2 separate regions of the Homo sapiens genome follow, and region 2 is linked to region 1. Evidence: promoter capture Hi-C in 16 types of primary human blood cells and fetal thymus (Javierre and others, 2016). All regions are on one chromosome and are shown on one strand. Each heading gives the region's core, a stretch centred on a gene start or on the middle of the fragment in contact. The rest is flanking DNA. Distances are from core to core; before and after follow the strand shown. Region 1 holds the start of RTKN (rhotekin). Region 2 overlaps NAGK (N-acetylglucosamine kinase).

Region 1 (2,879 bases), core at 182-2,681:
TTGCAGTGAGTCGAGATCATGCCATTGCACTCCAGCCTGGGTGACAGAGTGAGACTCTGTCTTAAAAAAAAAAAATTAAAATAAATAAATAAATAAATAAATAAAAATAAAAAATTATACATATTTGTAATGCTTTTTAAGAGATGGGGTCCCACTATGTTGCCCAGGCTGGACTTGAACTTTCGGGCTCAAGCAATCCTCCCACCTTAGCCTCCCGAGTAGCTGGGACTACAGGTGTGCACCACCATGCCAGGCCAATTTGTGTGTGTGTGTGCGTGTGTGTGTGTGTTTTGTTGAGACAGGGTTTCATGTTGCCCAGGCTGGTCTCCAACTCCTGAGCTCAAGAGCGATCAGTCCCCCTTGGCCTCCCAAAGTGCTAGGATTACAGGCTTGAGCCACTGCACCCAGCCATCTTTTTTTTAGACGTAGTTTCGCTCTTGTTTCCAAGGGTGGAGTGCAATGGTGGGGTCTCAGCTCACCACAACCTCTGCTTCCCGGGTTTAAGCGATTCTCCTGCCTCAGCCTCTCAAGTAGTTGGGATTACCGGCATGTGCCACCATGGCCGGCTAAATTTTGTATTTTTAGTAGAGATGGGGTTTCTCCATGTTGGTCAGGCTGGTCTCGAACTCCCAACCTCAGGTGATCCACCCTCCTAGGCCTCCCAAAGTGCTGCGATTACAGGCGTGAGCCACCGCGCGCAGCTGCTCTTTATGACTGCAAATATGGGGCACTTGCCTTGTGCCAGGCACTATGCTGGGCATTTTACCCTCATTCTTATAGGTAATCCTCATAGCAACTTGAGGAGTGGAGATAATTACAGTATTCCCACTGAACAAATGAGAAAACTGAAGCTCAGAAAGGCCAGTGACTGGACCAAGTTAATGATTGCACGGTTAGTTAGTGACAGAGCTGGGGTTTCACGACGTGTTTAAGCACCGCCCCATCAGTTGTGGCCACTAGGCTTAGGCGGATAGCCTCGCAGAGGAGCCTAGGTGGGGAGGGGGACGAAGAAGGAACATTTGGGACTGTGGGATGTTGAAATGGTCTCTTCGGAGGCTGCCGGGATTGAAACTGGGCAAGGTCCCAGGGCCCGAGTAGAGCCAGAGCGTGCTACGCGGCGATCCCTGAGCCACGGGGTTTTCAGCGCCCGGGAAGCCAGGCTTGCCAGGTTGGGGCGGCTGGCGGGGCAGGGCTTCTCGGTCCGTCCCAAGTCCAGGTAGGCGCTCGCGACCCGCGCGGGCAGGGAGAACGCGCTCCCACAGTGCTCGCGAGGTGCAGTGCGCCCCTGGGGGCTCCGGGGCCGTCGGGCCAGGTCGGCTTGGCGCCCAGGGACTGGCCGGACGGGCTGGGCCTTTGGCGGGGGTGGAAGAGGAGGTTGCCGCGCCCTGCCCGGCCCAGGTGTCGTCTCCGGGGGCGGGGTTTGGAGCCCCGCAGCGGGAGATTCCCGGCCGGACTGGCGGACGAGCGTCGAGAGACAGAAGCCGAGGAGAGGAGGCTAAGCCGGGCGGCGCGGGGAGCGCACTGAGCAGGCAAAGTCGCAGGGCCGCCAGCATGTTCTCCCGAAACCACCGGAGCCGGGTCACCGTGGCCAGGGGCTCCGCCCTGGAGATGGAGTTCAAACGCGGCCGCTTCCGACTCAGCCTCTTCAGCGACCTGCCCGAGGTGAGAGACTCGCGTCCCTGCCTTCCCCTTCCGCGGCTCCCGGGGGCAGCCCCAGCCACCTCGGCCTCCTTCCCTCGCCCGCGTGCACGCCGAGGGGCGGAGACGCACGGTCTGGGTACAAACCCGACGGAGTTGTTGACTTAAAAAGTAAGGTGTGGACGGTCTGCATTTTCATCGGATCCATGCTGCCCATTCCGCGGCCTGGTTAGGATTATCTGCCTGAGCCTGGAAAAAGCCCGGGTTGGTCTCAATTTGTAGGGCCCCAGCTCGACTCCTAAAATGTGCCTGAACCCCAAAATGTCTTGGGCATCCCCGGGCCAAGGGCGGTGGGCAGCTAGGCGGGCCCCAAGCGCTCGGACTCTTGGCCTGGGCTCCCGCTTGTTCCCCAGTCGCCAGCCCCATCCCACAACCTGTCGCAGCCATCTGGGCCAGCCTCTGTCATCAACCCCGACTTTAGGCCGGGGCCGCTCGCTTCCCCGAAGCCCAATTCAAAGGCTCCTCTATGCCCCTGCAGGGCTTTTAACTCCTTGGGGTTACTTCCCACACGCAAAATTTCCGCCTCCTTTTCTGGGGCCTAAGAGGAGTCCAGCCCCTAGGCTGAGCGTTTCCCCCGTCCGCCGTCCACGCGTTAACCTGTTGGATCCCCACCTGTAACGCCCTAAGGGCTAGGGCGGGGCTGAAGGTGTGTGGTTGAGCGGGGACTGAGAGGGCGAATAGCTACCCCGAAGACTCTTCTGTCCCCAAGGTCAGACTCACACTCGCCCAAGGAGAGCCCAGTTCCAAGCCTTCCCTTCCGGGTCTGGAAAGGGTTAAGTGAGGTGGGCCTTCCTTCCGCCCCCTCTACCTCCCGGCTGGGATTCCAGGCCTGGCTTCTGCCCTTTCCCTCCAGCCTGCCCAGAACAAAGAGGCTCTTTCACACCCTTGTCCCGGCGTCCCGGGCCTTCTCTGACTCAGAAGCTAGTGGACCTGGGGAGAGGGGGCCTTTGTCGCGTCCCCTTGCCCCCAAGCGACTGGGCCCGAGGAACCCGCGTGGGGCCAGCGTGGGGGAGTAAGGGGCGAGGCCCGGGACCAGGGGGAGGGGCCTGTGAGCTGGGGCCGCCCCTGGGATTAGCCCGGCCTTCGGGGACAGCTCGGAGGAGCTGGGGCGGAGCCGCAGGGCCTGGCGGCCGCCGAGTGAAGTGTGACTCCGTGGGCCTGGCGTGGAGGCGGGGGCGCTA
Region 2 (2,879 bases), core at 37-2,536, 3.4 Mb after region 1:
GTGGCTCCTTGCCCAGCCGGTCTTCCAGTGACTCTACCTGCTTTACTGGGATTGTGCTAGACCCGTTCTCACAGTGATATTCACTCATACCCTAAACCATCTTATGAATACAACTTCCTCTATTTTATAGATGAGAAAACTGAAACTCAGAGTTTTGGAACTTCGCCAACATGGTATAGCAGGCAAAACAGGAACTGGGATTCAAACACCAATCCCATGACACCAAAACTCTTTACACTATCACAAGGCCACCCCACTTCCTCCTCAGCACTGACAGCTTCCCCAGCCTGCCTTCCTCACTACACCGCCCCCAGGTGGTCCCTCATCTGCAGGGGAGTTATGTTTGACCCCACTCCTGGATTCCCATCAAGAGACCTTTCTTGCCCTTCCTCCTGCTGCCTGGTCCTTGCTCTGGCAGAGACTTAAACTACTTAAAGAGTTGAGGGGAATATAAGAGTGGCTGCCTTCTGGATATTTGCAGAACAAGTTTTGTCAGCTATATCTAAGGGGCTTTCCCAAAAAAACCAGTTCTCACTCTCACCCCTCCCTCCACTTCCTCACCATCCGGTGTAGCTGTGGCGATGGAGCCGGCGGCATCGGTGGTGATTAAGTAGCTTTCACTCAGGTAGGGAAATCGGTCCCTCAGCTCCTCGATCAGGATCCTCCCCGCGTCCTCCTGGTCCCCACCGCTCAGAGATAGGCCCTAGGCCACGCGGGAGGTGAGCGAGTGTGCAGAGCCCCAGCCCCAGCTCTTTTCTCAACCCCCGCCCCCTCCTGATGCCTGATTCCTGTTCTCCCCATCTGGCCATACCCTGTTCACCCAGCCCCAGTCCTCCTTTCTCCCCACACAATGACCCCTCAGAAGGCTGTGGTTATAAGAACAACCTGGACTGGGGATGGACAGAAGAAAGAGGGGATTCAACAATGCCAGCTTTGGAGCTTGGAAGGGCAGTAGTGCTCTTAACAGAAAGATCAGGCAGCGGGGCAAGGTGAGGGGAGATGGAGAGAGGTAAGCTTGGTTTGGTATACACGAGGTTTGCCTGTGTCTGCAGAACATCTCACATATATGTCCAGGGAGTAGCTGGAGCTACCGCAACTTGGGAGAAAGATCTGAACCAGGAGTAAATAATAGCTAACATTTAATGAGTGCTTATGGGTCAGGCTCTATACTAACCACTTTGCAATGTATCATGCCATTTTACTTTCCCAACAACTCTGAGGTAGCTACTATTCACATTTTCCAAATGAGGAAACTGAGGCTTAGAGAAGGTGAGTAACCTACACAGGGTTACGCAGATACTGAGCAGCAAAGCTGGGATTCAAACCAAGGTCTCAGCAGCTCTCCAAAGCCCTGTGCTCTTCCAACACATTTGTAGTTTGTAGGTGGCAACTGAAGCCATGAGACTGGGTGAGATTATGACAGTTTTGACACCAGGGACTAAGTCTTGGAGGTCTTTCCCTCTGCAGTCATCAAACTCATCTAGTCCAAACTTGCTAGCTGTCTCAGTGTCACAGATGGCTGAATTCCCAGGCTCCGCCCCAGACTCACCAAGCTTCGCAGCGGTACCAGAGGATCCACCCCTGCTTTCCGTTTGGCCCTGTTCACCATCTCATTGATCCTCTCCACACACTTGTCTGTCCCGATCAGCTGGCCCCAATCAAGGGAAGAAGGAGTTACAAAGGCTTACAGAAGCTATGTTGCCCCCACAGGCTGCTCTGTGAGTCCCAGCCACCACCTCAACAGGAATTACAGAGAATAAAATCAGAACCAAGCCCTCTGATCCCCTCAGTGTGGTTTTTACCCAGTGGTTTGTGCTCAGTCCATCTGCTTCTGCCAGGATCTTCCCATCCTCTGAGACTAAAAGGACCTCGGATCGTGTGCCTCCCCTACAGAACACAAGAGGGCACTTGATCTTGCTCGGAAAAACCCACAGAGAGAGCTAAGCTTGTGCTGTCCACACTGGCAGAGCCCAGTATGATGGAGGAGACAGCTTCGACAAACTCAATCACCACTCCCAAACCCGCCTCTGTGGTTCAGTGTTTGAGTGCTCTTTAACTGAAACATAATTCTCACTCCTCTTCCCTTGGGGATGTCCTCCTTATCCTGCAAGACTCTACTTACGCTTCACCTAGTCCTCGAAACCTTTTCTGAGGTGTGGCCCACCCCAACGAATTAGTTAAGTCTCCGTTAGTTAAACCTTCATAGTGCCTCCAAAGTTATTAAAGTCTCCTCTGTATGAAGTGTGTGTTCAGACGCTTTGTGTCCGCCTCTCACTAGACTTCAAGCTCCACTGGGTCAAGCTCCTGATCACTTACTTACCCTCTCAGAACGAGCACAGGAGCTGGCACAGGCAATGCTCAGCAAACACTCCTAAGAAAAATGGCACATCTCTCTGCTTCCCTCACAATAGCTAAAGACTGCATTTCAAGATCCAGCTGCCAAGGTCTTCAAGACACCTTTGCTAGAAATGCTGACCAGATGGCAGGGTGACTTCATACATACTTAAGCAACTAAACCTTCAAATGTTGATTACTGGGGGTCACAGTAGTTCACAGGGAGATCTGTGGTGATGGGATATATGTTTCTTTATTGATCATTACTTTTAGGAATGGCAGAAGAAGACACTGAAGACCGCTCATCAAACTCAAAGAGGACATGAAATTTCAAGGGGGTAGTTAATACATGAGGTGGCAGATTCCACATCCAAAAGCATGTCTTGACGAACTGGAAGAAACGGGTCATATCTTACAGATGACTATAACAAGGATGAATGCAGACTCCTATACTGTTTTTTTTAAGTGCTACAAATACAGGATGGGAAAGATCATTCCTAACAATTCATGTGAAAAGACTTTGGGGTCTGTGAATCAGCAGTGGG

The links. The method cuts DNA at HindIII sites, captures the fragments that hold promoters and counts their contacts. A CHiCAGO score of 5 or more calls a contact.
Region 2: a fragment that was not itself captured here is called in contact with the fragment with the promoter of RTKN in region 1 in 1 of 17 cell types (M0 macrophages); the score reaches 6.4 in M0 macrophages.

What each region holds. Positions count from the first base shown.
Region 1 is chr2:74,440,489-74,443,367 of GRCh38, reverse strand. It overlaps RTKN (rhotekin), which reads left to right and starts at 1,431. Exons shown (of 12, transcript NM_001015055.2): 1 at 1,431-1,662. The coding sequence starts at 1,552. RefSeq lists silencers at 1,341-1,420, 1,731-1,790, 2,506-2,815. The HindIII fragment of the contact is 8,784 bases long and covers 1-2,879 here.
Region 2 is chr2:71,069,510-71,072,388 of GRCh38, reverse strand. NAGK (N-acetylglucosamine kinase) reads right to left here. Exons shown (of 10, transcript NM_017567.6): 2 at 1,803-1,887; 3 at 1,550-1,648; 4 at 562-703. Among named protein-coding and RNA genes, the nearest start is that of NAGK, 2.3 kb to the right of the region's middle. RefSeq lists an enhancer at 1. The HindIII fragment of the contact is 539 bases long and covers 1,017-1,555 here.